Linked DNA regions of Homo sapiens: region 1 is linked to region 2. The links are contacts of gene promoters, found by promoter capture Hi-C in human tissues and cell types (Jung and others, 2019). All regions are on one chromosome and are shown on one strand. Each heading gives the region's core, a stretch centred on a gene start or on the middle of the fragment in contact. The rest is flanking DNA. Distances are from core to core; before and after follow the strand shown. Region 1 has its middle 340 kb from the start of RPRM. Region 2 holds the start of FMNL2 (formin like 2).

What was found. Contacts are between HindIII fragments. The study calls those that stand out against the background at their distance.
Region 1: a contact is called between a fragment that was not itself captured here and the fragment with the promoter of FMNL2 in region 2, in 1 of the 25 tissues and cell types used here (aorta).

The regions. Positions count from the first base shown.
Region 1 is chr2:153,139,989-153,146,090 of GRCh38, forward strand. It overlaps a transcript of GALNT13 not described here. Among named protein-coding and RNA genes, the nearest start is that of RPRM, 340 kb to the right of the region's middle. The HindIII fragment of the contact is 4,398 bases long and covers 1,706-6,102 here.
Region 2 is chr2:152,330,924-152,337,028 of GRCh38, forward strand. It overlaps FMNL2 (formin like 2), which reads left to right and starts at 4,251. Exons shown (of 26, transcript NM_052905.4): 1 at 4,251-4,797. The coding sequence starts at 4,681. RefSeq lists silencers at 4,051-4,700, 5,211-5,310. The HindIII fragment of the contact is 5,547 bases long and covers 2,008-6,105 here.

The DNA.
Region 1 (6,102 bases), core at 2,655-5,154, 810 kb after region 2:
CTTACAAACTTCTTTATTCTCCCACCAGCCCTTAAAAGCAATAGGGTGGAAAAGTGAGCAGAGAGGACATCAGGTCTGGCATTTGATGATGTGGTAATCTTACCATCCATTCCTTAAGATTTGTTACGCCAGATTTGAAGTAAACAATACAACCAAAAACTATTTATCACGGAAGGAAATGATAATAGTCATTAACATTACAGCTAATATTTTTTGAGCACATAATGTATGCCAAGCACTATTCCAGGTCCTTCACAATGTTATTTCATTTCCCATTCCCACGAGAACCCGATAAGTTAACTGGCCTGGAAGGTGGAATTGGCAGAGACTTCACAGAGGAGTCAGGTCTTGAGATGACCTTGGAGAAAGGAAGGATTCCAAAGGTTGTATACAACAAAGGACAGGTTGTCTTTATAGAGAAAATGTGAGCAAATGAATGCATATAAATGTATTTTCATAAAAGGTGAAGAAACTGAAACAGGGAAAGGTTAATAATTTAACTAAAGTCCAGGATTCAAATTGAGCAGGACTAACTCTGAGATTTGAATCTTTAATCTTATGGCTTGAGTCTAGGTTGTAGGACCCCAGAATCTATGTCTGTTAATCCCTGTTTTACAGTGCTCTCCAAGTTGAAAAACTCAGAGTTTTACAAATGTTAATATAATGAGTGCCTTTTATGTAAAACATATGTTAACCACCACAAGGAACTTTGCCCTCAAGTAACTTTTCTCTTACCAAGGGAAGCTGAATACCCAACTAAGATGCACTTCTTCATTTTTGCATTTTCATTGAATTCACCGAAAGAAAACAGAAAGGGAATAGCATTCATTGAATACCTAAGGTGGATATGAATTAATGCTTCATATACATAATTGTTTAAAATGGCCTGAAATATAATTTACCAATTTAAAGTGTTTAATTCAACACCTTTCAGTATTTTTACAGAGTTGTGCAATCATCCCCATGATCTGATTTTGGAAAATTTCATCAGCTCCCCCAAAAATCCATACTCATAAGCAGTTGCTGTCCATTCTACCACTCTGTCCATCCCCTGTCAAAGAGAACCATTAATCTTTCTGTATCTGTAGATTTGTTTATTCTTGACATTTCATATGTAAAATCAGGAAATATGTGGTCTTTTGTGACTGGCTTTTTCCACCTGGAAGAGCATAATGTTTTCTAGATTCATCCCTGTTGTAGCAGATAGCAGTTTTTTATTTTCTTTTTAAATTGCTGAATAATATTCCATAGTATGGATATATGGCCACTTGTGTTGGAGTGACATCTGGGTTCCACAAGCAGGATGCTGGGCTGGGGCAGCCACCACTGGCCTTCTCAACTTGTCTGTCCTTGTGTGGAACCTCTGCCCTATGAATGAGCAGAGATAAGGGTGGGCTAGGCCTAAGATTAAAGGCCTATAAGCTTAGGTAGAGCTTCCACCCCGTGAGTTGGGGCAGGGTAGAGGAAGAGGCCTCCAGACTTCTCAGCTGTTTTTGTCTAGTATTAAAACCTCTGCAATACAGATGGTGGATAGTGAGGTGGGGAGATGCTGCAGTTCTCAACTGGGAGCTGGGAGAAGACAGAGCCCTGTGTTCTTGGTTCTACCTACCTGGAGTGGAGCTTCATCATGCAGAGCTGGGTGTGGTGAGGAAGAGACTTTTGCTGCCACAGTCTCTTGCTGTTTGGTAGGTTGAAGGTGTGTTTTCTTTTTCTTCCCACTAGTTACGACTGTTTTGCTGGGAGAGGGTCTCAGAGCTCCCCATACCATCATTATAGAAGTCATCTAGCTATGCATTTAATCTTTACAATTTTTAAGCCTATTTTCTCTGTTAATCATTAGAACAACCTAAGAGTAAGGTAGTAAACATCAGAGCCAGGGTTTGAATCAGACATTTGAATAGTATCTTATTGTGGTACATGCTTAGTAACATGTCCTCAATAAATTAATGAACCAAAAATATCAAGCAATACAATTTAGGAACGAATAAGCTTCCAGATGATGGATAGTAATAATAAAGGCTACTGTGGTTGGGTTGAGAGAGACATCATGAAGCGTTATTTTTGCTATGATGGGAAAAATGTAATTTCTCACGAACTGCTGAATTCTTTGTACCTAAACTATCGGTCTTTATGACCAAAATACACTGTACAGCCAGTTCATCAATTCTGCCATAGTAGTGGTGCTTAATTCATTGTGAGAGATTATGCATTTGGTGACTTCACATACAGAGCAAAACCCCTGGAGGGGAAGTGGCTACTTAATGTTAACACTGCTGGAATTCTGGCACCTTGGGGCATGTTTGGGAAAGCCGCAGGGAGTTTTATTTGCCCAGTGCCCAGTGGGATTGCTGGAAGTAATTGAAGATGATAAACACATGGAGGAAGGTAGAGAAAAAGAGCAATTTCTAAACATATCAAGTAATGTCCTAATGAGCAGAGAGCTTACCTTGGAATGATAAAAGGTTTAAATGGTCAGGCTCAGTTCAGGAAAACAGGCTGATGATTTAGGATGTTCTACTGTGGTATAACGTATATTATCTTTTAGCCCAATACCTGGGAATAATATGTCCCAATTTTAGAAAAATGAGAGAATGAGCGTGAGAGAGAGAAAGTGAGACCGAGAGCAAGAGCAAGAGAGAGAGAGAGATCGATAAATGAAATGGAGGTTTGTAGGCCTAGGGATATTGTAAGCTTTCTTTGCCTTTATTGTGGTGTTATGTATGGAAATGGGAAGATTGACAAGAAGTCCTATGAAAAATTAGTGAAGTTAGCCTGACAAGGGCCAATTCCCAAAGCTTTGTCTTGTTGAGCTCATGTTAGGAGATATGAAATCAAAAGCAGAAAACGGTAGGTGGGAGGTATTCTAGAGGCCCACTTAGAACTGGAAGGAATGATGTTAACATGGTGGGTCCTTGTAATTATGCAGTTTTGCAGGCTGTGGAGCAGTAGCTCAGACAGGGGTTCAACTTCCCAAGGAGAATATACTGCCAGTTGGTGAAAAGGAGAAGAGATAATGGGCAATGAAGAGAAGCTTCAAAGGTGTGAATGGAGAGGTAATCCCAGCAATGATAAAGGAAATCATTGGTGCCTGAAAAAGTGTGCAAGTGATCCCAGAACCACACCAACAAGGAAGGTACCTGGACAGCTGGCATTTTTAGGCTACTTCTGGTGCAGGCTCCCAGCCCAAGACTCTTGTTATCATCGCTCCACTCATTAACGATATGTCAAGCATAAGGCAGGTCGAATGTACATGTCTCTAATGGTAATTTCTCTTTTGCAAAATGACTAAAATTGGGAAACTTTTTTTAAAAAGGAAAAAATATACACCCTAATTTCTGTGCTTTTGTTTATGCCTCCTTCTATCCTTTCTTTTGCAAGAACTCTCTGGCTCATGCCCATTAATACCTGATGCCAGATACTAGGGTCCATGATTGTAATTTCATCCTGCCTGTTTCCTTCCAGAGCAGTTAATCTTTCTCTTTGAGCTATAATAACTGTGGTGCTGTAGTCTCAGAGCAGTGAAACCTAGTTAGACCTGGGCATGAAAATACTGCCTGCATTGAATTGAAACCTTGAAAAGTAGCCATAGTCCTTTCAGCTTCATTCATCTTGCAAAGCAAGTAGCAAAGTCTGCCAGATGGAAATAGTTTAATTTGGTAGATGGAAACATTTTTAAGACTTGTGGACTATATTACAAATGTTACTAGTTGAAGTCTCTTGCACAACTTAGAATTGTTTTCTCCTGTGCTGTATCATTTAGAAAGCCCAAAAGATTACTTTAAAAAACGGAGTGAAACAGAAAATCTGCCCCAGACAACTCTTGCAAAGTTTGCTGATATTATTTAGACATCAAACACTTTGTTATCAACTCTACTGGCTTAAAAGCTTTTCAAGTATTTTTTTCTGCCCTCAGCGTATCTTTAAATGACAGGCATAGATGTTTGCCTTCATTTCTTAGCATCCTCACCCTAGGCATTCATTGTCTAAGCACTGGAGTTTCGGTCATCACATGAATGCGTACGAAATACGCAGCCAAGTCCACTGTCCTTTGCCACCTCTAGCTCTCATGGGTCATTGGATAATTGGATATTTGAAAAGCACCTTGAAATAAGGGCTATAAATAATTCTTTTCTCCATTTTTAGAAAGCTCCATGGAAAGAAGGGTCATTGGAAAAATCCTTGGATCACCCTGCATGAAAGACTGGTGTTTATTTGCCTTGAAGTAATTCAGAGAGAAGGGAATATGGTGCAATGGAAGCAGGTCCTGAAGGAAAGGAGAATGGAGATCTAGTATTGGTTCTGCTACTAATTAGCTGTGTAAGCTCAGGAAATTCCCTTCACCTCAGGAGCCTGGATATGTAGAACAAGAAAGTTGAACTTGATAATCTCTAAGATGCTTTTTGAATATTCTGCAAACACTTTACTCCTATGCAACCTTCTTAAGTCTTCTTGGGCTCTAAATAATGTGTCCTAATTTGTCATTAGGTAAGTGGCTCCTCTGATTCTGTAGAGAACTCCAGAAGTGTATTTGAGCACTGGAACACTCAAGTTATCCATAATAGAAGAGAAGTAAGTCTGGTATGCCAAGATAGGAGGAAGAAAGAATAATTGGTTCTCAGGAAGTGACTGGCATAATCATCATACACAATTTAAGATACAAACTCATGGTCTGCTCTTGGATACGAAACAATCCTCTCCTACAAAGCCTACTGATAATAGAAGACTAGAAGAGGAAAATGTTCATGTCTGGGGAAAAGCAGTAATTAAGGCAATGGGCTCTGAAGTCTGACAGATCTGAGTGTGGGACTCAAAGTTACCAGTTTCTTGCCGAGTTAAGAAAACTCGGGAAGTTTTCTTAACCTCTCTGATCTTCACTTGCTTATAAGAGGGGTTATATTAGAAATTATATGCATGATTTTTCTAATACAATTATCAAAAAATGATATAAAGTATGCTTATCATAATGTCTGACAAATAGTGCATAATATGTACTAGCCATTATTCTTATAATTAATGATAGTCACTAGATGATAAAACTAATGTTTACTTTATAAATTACTCAATAAATACTTGCTATATATTTAGCACACTGTAGATATGAAGAAGTGAAAGGCATGGTTTTATTCCTCAAAACTTAAAATCCTATCTATGAAAAAATTTGTCATCTATTATGGTGCTGAGCATATATATAAGTGTATGGATTGGTGACTTTCAGTTTCTTACATAGCAATTTGAAAGGTAGGATGCAATAGTTCATATATTTGGTCGTTAGAACAAAATAGAACAAAGCAAAATTTCCCAATTACCTACTAATTTTAGCCAAACATCTATGAATACTATAATGCCGAAAAAGAAGTTTAAAAATTGTATTAATTCTGAAAACATGTATAGCCATGTACATTTTAATCACATTAACAAACTTACCAGAAATGGTCTAGTTTAAAAAATATACCTAGTTGGATTTCATTTCAAAGGTTGCTGATTATATAATAATAATCCTGAAAGTTGAAGCCTTGAAAAATTAAGCCAAATTCTAAAAATACTTCTTAATTGGATCATTTTGGAACCCCAGGTCTTTGATTCACATATAATTTTGGCATTGGGTTTTCAGAGTGTGTGACTATCAGGCACCTGGCAGAGATGGATTAGGTCCAAGTCCAACCAGATGCTTGGTGGCAGATGGCTCCCAGTGCAGTTACTCTAAACTTGGAATGTGTAAAAAGTTAAATGCTCAGAGGCTGAAACCTAATCCATTATGGGCATATGTGCTCTGAGTTTGGGGAAATCTGTGGCCATGAAGGATAGTATTGTATACATAATAGTGAATGAGGATCCATGGACTAGCATGACCTCGAACTATTAAAATCTATCTCTCTAGGTGATTCCCAGGATCAGATTTCTGGAACTCAACATAATAAACATAGCAGGAAGGAGCCACACTCATCATGTTCCAACTATTTTTTATGGCCCAGAGGAGAATGTGAGGTGTATTTAGCTTCATGTCTTGGGAAACTCACTGGGTTTCTGAGATGAAGGGAATTTCCTGAGCTTACAGAGTGAATTAGTAGCAGAGCCAATATTAGATCTTCCTTCTTTTCTCCA
Region 2 (6,105 bases), core at 3,001-5,500:
ACTGAAGTCAAATAGGGGTCTGGCCATGACACTGACATTGCCCCTTCCCCCCTGCTTTCTGCCTGGAATACAGGCAGACTTGATTCATAGCACCCTGACTGATTCATAGCACCCTGACTGTTATTTTATAAGTACATGGGAAAGGACCAGGCCATCCTACAGATACTGGCTGTAGCCTTACTGAATTGCCAAAAAAAATTTGGCAGCTACCTTTCTCCATATTTCTTGTCATATGAGAAAAATATATTATTTAAGACATTATTAGTTGGGTGGTGAAAGCATTCCTAATTGATTCAGGAGGAGGAGGGGAACTGGAGAGTTAAGTTACATCTTGGTAAGTTAACTGTTTAAAGAAGGCTGTATAAAGCAAAAGGGAAAAAACTCATGTTTAAAATTTGTTTACAAATCAAGAGCAGTGCCTGGCACATAGTAAGTGCTCAATAAATATTCTTCAAATAAATGTAGGTGAATATGTCAATCTTGCAGAACTGTTGTAGATGTAAATTGACAAATAGCAATCCCTCTAAAATCCCAGCTAGTTCTACTTCACAATTTTGATTCAGGACTATCAATAGTTGTATTTTTCACAGAGCACTGACCTCATTTGTACATAATTACACACACAAGGAGAATCTTAGGGTTACTACTCTGTAGCCAAGTTCAGTTAGCCTTTCTAAGACACTAAGTGAACTTACCTGCAGAGCTGTTCCTTACATTTAGAACCTGAGGAGATACCAATAAAACTTAGCTCCAATCCCTCAAACAGCTGATCTTGTAGAAGTATTTGTCCTGAATAATGGAAAAGCTTCTTTGAAAGCAATCACACCATTGTAGAGGAATCCCAGACCAAGCCATCCCTGGCATAGCTTGGAAATGCACATAGAAGATAAATGTTCTAACATTTCAGTGTCCCTGGAAGCTAAGTACAGTTTTAATAGACATTTTTCTTTTTTTCTTTCTTTTTAAGATAGGACCTTGATTTTGCTCTGTTGCCCAGGCTGGAGTAGAGTGGCACACCTATGGCTCACTGCAGCCTCAACCACCCAGGCTCAAGCAATCCTTCCACCTCAGCCTCCCTAGCAGCAGCTAGGAAGACAGGTGGATGTCACACACCAAAAATTTAAAAAAATTTTTGCATATTTTTAAACATTTTAAGCCATTAGGTTTTAAAGGTAGTTTTGTTACATCACATAGATAATAGGTAAAAATATCACTTTATAGTACTTACGATTTGCAAAATATAGTATCTTCTGAGTCAGGGATCAGCAAACATTTTCTGTAAAGGGCCTGATAGTAAAAACTTCAGGCTTTGAGGGCCATATGGTCTATGTCATATCAACTCAACTCCATCCTTGCAGTGCAAAAGCAGCTATAGATAGTAGGTAAATAAATGGTTTTACTGTGTTCCGATAAAACTATTTATAAGAGTAGGCAGATGAATGGATTTGGTTTACAGGCATAGTTTTCTGAATTCTGTTCTAAGTTGACAGTCTAGAAGAAGGTATATAATTCTCATCTCATAGTATGCATCCAATTATTAATAATTAGCTTCTTTGTTGTCTTCAGAAAATTCTGTATGGGAAGAAATCTTGCAGGCTTTGTTATAAAGAATATCAAACTGGCACAGTGGCTCACACCTGTAAACCCAACACTTTGGGAGGCCAAGGCAGGAGGATAGCTGGCAGCCAGGAATTTGAGACCAGCCTGGGCAACAGTGAGATCCCATCTCTCTTTCCCATGATTCTTCCCTTAGGGTAGGCGTTCTGCATGCATGGTGCTCTTCTTACCCTGGGGAATTGAGCACACACAGTGTGTTTAGGAAGTTGTATGCATGCCCATACAACTGGCTTTCTTTTTCTTTTCTTTTTTTTTCCAGTGGAGTGTACCTGGAAGATCATACTTCGCCATTTTTGTCTCTTAATAATTTTGCATTTTTCTTAGAGATGGAGTTTCTCCATGTTGCCAGGCTGGTCTTAAACTCCTGGGCTCAAGCAATACTCCTGCCTTGGCCTCCCAAACTGCTGGGCTTACAGGTGTGAGCCACTATGCCCGGCCCAGACATTTTCTTTTTTGCCAATATTTTGCACATGAGCTGTAACAAATCATATATAATAATAATAATAAATGGAATATACATTTTTAAATGATTGCTTGATTTTAATTCTGTGGGGAGGAAGAGTGCTACAATTAAGGTAATAGAAATGTCTTTTCTTTCCTTTCCCTCCATGCCGTCTCCCCGCAAAGAATTTCCTAAGATTTTGATGGATTCTTATAGAAATTGTACAAGCCTATGGAGTGTTTATTTCTCCTCTTAATAATCACAAATAACAACCAAATATTAGAGATTCCAAACATTGAAATGGCAGGAAAGTTCTTTTGGTTCATAGATTTGCACACTTTTTCCTTGGCTTCCCTCGAAGTGTGAGCTTATGAGAGAGACTAGATGTGATAAGACGTAAGGGGAGAAAAAGGTCTTGGTTACTGGCAGAAATATAGCCGCAGGGAGACATAAATGTAATCAAAAAGGCTTTCTCAACTGCAGAAAAGAATTCCAGCCTTTTTTATCCAGATGGGCAACCCTCTGGGTGGGCTGATTTTGTGAGTCAATCAGATCCAAAGTATATGTCTAGAGATTACAAGGAAATAAATACATTTGTGGGTCAGAAATGTTTCACCTGGTCCGAACTGCTTTCTTTCTCTCTCATTTTCATTAGTTTGGAGTGTGTGTGTATCTAAACCGCCCTGCTTTTCTCTCAGATCAGTAACACATTTGCTATTAACTTTGATACAACACTGCTTTAGAAATACAGGTTACAGTTATTCAGAATTTTAAGTTGAATTTATTTATACTGTCTCCATTCTTTAAAGACTAGAAGTGGTTTAATAGAACATACATGATGTATTTGTGTGTATTTGTGTCATATGCTTTTGGAAAAAGTCACTTGTCAATTCCACAAATAGTTCTTGGGCGTCTACTATGTTTAAAGTATCTTGAAGTTTATAAAGATGAATGAAATGTCCTTGATTGAATCTTGGTGTACTACCTTGTCCAGAAACACTTGCTATTTACTAAAAGGATAACAACCTTACCTGCATATCAAAATCACCTGGGGAGCTTGTTGAAAATACACCGGCCCAGGCTTCGGCTCTCAGCTTAGGGAGATTCTGATAATACGCAGAGCCCAAGGTGTGTGTAGTTTTAACAAAAAGCTTCCCAAGCGAATCTGATACACATCTAGGATTAAGAAACACTGCTTTAAACTAAGAAAGGACTAACTGCAGAAGTTCAGCCACAAGTCAACCAGATGTATGCCCTTAACATTCACATGAGCAGTTGGCTAAAGTCTCTTATAAGGCTATTTCTATTTCCGAGGTTTCAGAACGGGTAGTTATAGTCTGAAATACACCCCAGAGGACAGAGTCAGGTCCAATCTTTTCTGTAAGACACCTTGCTCAAGACTGCTGTGAAGGAATAAGAGAGCTGCAGCCAAAGATCATCCCAAAGTCTCCCAGAACACTCTATCATTATATCCATCTCACATGAAATATGGGTGTGTACATTTTTTCCTTCACTAGATTGGCAAGTATTCCAGCGCAGGGCAAATCTCTTTTTTCTCCCACCAAGGAACACAATATCCCATACATAATAGGTGTTTGACAGGTTTTTTTTTTAAATTGAATTGAATCCTTACCTAGCTCCTAGGGTCTGACTATATATACCCATAAATTATACATCTGTTTATAAAACATTTCAATCACACCAAAGAACATATATATGGAAGAAAGAACGATAAACAAGCACCCATGGACCCACCCCCCCGTTTATGAAACAGAACTTTGCCAGTGCTTTCGAAGTTCCTTACTGAACTAGATCTTTTAAAAACAGCAACGATTTTCTGAATTTTAATCAGAAGGCATGCATTCCTTCATTCATTGATTCGATTCCGTCATGGTCAGACCCGCCTACCAAGTGTCAACATGATATACACGATGTAAGTATTCCACTGTTGGGGTGAGGAGGGTCAAAAGTGACAATATGCTATCTCCAGAGACTACGGATCGCCTTTGCTGCAAATGGTCCCAACCCGGCCTGGCGCTCTAGAGCAGGCGTGGTTTCTGCGCGCGGACACTTTGGAGAGAAACTACGCGTCCCGGCAGTCCGCGGGGCGAGTGGGCGGAGCCGGGCCGGGGGCGGGGGCCGGGCGCCGGGCGAGAGGTGGCATTGTGTAGGGGAGCGCGGAGCTGCATTTGTCTGCTCCAGGTGCTAGCCAGGCAGGCGCAGCCGTGGCCGGCTAGGGCTGGAAGTGTCAGCGGCGGCCGCGGGCCCGGCAGAAGGCCGAGTAGGAGGGACCACGCGCCGGGGGCCGCGATCTCTGGCAGGGGGCGGTGTGCCAGCGGAGCACCATGCACATAGGCGCCCAGCGCCCCAACTACCCCTCCCGAGGAAAAGAGGCCGGGGCCGCGCTGGGGCGGCGGAGAGCATGAGGGAGGCCGGGGGGCGGCTCGGCTTGGAGCGCTGCTAGGGAGCGGTGCGCGCCGCACACCCGCCTGGGCGCGGCGGAGGGCGGGGAGCCGGGCAGGTCGCGCCTGCGGGCGGCAGCCGACCGCCGGGAGCTGTTCTGATTTCCGACGCGCACGCTAGGGGCCCGGAGCAGCCCCCGGCCCCGGCGCGCCGCCGACATGGGCAACGCAGGGAGCATGGATTCGCAGCAGACCGATTTCAGGGCGCACAACGTGCCTTTGAAGCTGCCGATGCCAGAGCCAGGTGAACTGGAGGAGCGATTTGCCATCGTGCTGGTAAGTGCGCGGCGGCGGTCGGGCGCGGGGACCCGGGGCCCCGGGCCGGGCGGCGCAGCTGACCCCCGCCCCTCCCCTTCACCCCGTGCCGGGAGCGAGCCTCCATTCCCGAGGGGGAGGCTCCCGCTTTCCCCTTTGTGGCCCCCCAGCACTCCTCTTCACCCCCCTGGCAGTCCCCCGCGCTCAGTCTCTCGGGGTCCCGGGATGGGGATGGGGGCTCAGGGCCGGCTGCCCAACCAGCCTCGAACCCATTGTCTGGCTGGAGAGGCACCTCACGGCGCGTGTGCCCGGGAGGTGCGGCGTGGGCGTGAAGAGAAGGTGGCGCGGGCTGGGAGGAGGAGGTGGCGAGCCGCTTAGGCTTTTTTTTTAAAAAAAACAAAACAAAACAAAACAAAACAAAACACCCTGAGCCCCTGCGGACCATCCCTCGGGCGGCCAGCCCGGGACCTGCGAAGTCCCCGGCAGATGGGGCGCATGTGGCCGGCCGCGGGCGCCGCGCCGGGCGGTGAGCGGAGGCGAACTTGGAGGGCTCACGTCGCGGCTTGGCCAAGGGGAGCTTCCCCGAAAGGGAAAGCGGAGACCCACAGCAGTGCGGCGCCCCGGCCCTTGGCGAGGAGCAGGGGCATCTGAAACCCAGGCCGGGGAGAACCTCAGCGCGTTCCCTCTAGACTTAAATCTTAAACCACAAAAATGTGGAGTTTTGCGGGGACGTGTTGCGAGCTGTCCTGACTGCACGGGCGACCCCTCCCCTCCTCTTGCACGCCCAGCCAGGTCCCCCGCTCCCTCCTGCATTCCGCTTCTCCCAGCTTTCCAGCTCCTCAAATCCAGGACTCTGAAAACTCCCCTCTTTCTCCCTTTCCTGCTGGGACAGTGTCTGGGCCCCTCCCAGCCGAGGCTTGTGCTGTGAGCTGCAGAGGGTGTGGCGGCTTGCCCCAGCCAGGATCTGGACTGCTGTTGGTCCCCCAGACTACCAGTTTTAGTGTCCCAGCCTCTTCTAAGGGATGTTGGGAGGGACACACACAGGCGAGATTGGGCTCATTCCTACTCCTGACACTTGGACACTTCTCTTTTCCTAGTTGGTTACCTCTAAACTCCACAAGACTAGGCAGCAAGGGAAACTCGTGATCCGGGCAGCCAACGATTGTGCCTGCCTGCGGGTTTTCTTTTCTTCTTTTGTTTTCATGAAAACTTAGAACTTTGGCAGAGGACTCGAGTTCTAGATCAAAAATCGGTTTTCTGAGGTGTGCTCAGCTACAGGACGTTCAAATTGCCTGCCTTCAGGCCTTGAAAAAGGAATGGTTTGGTATG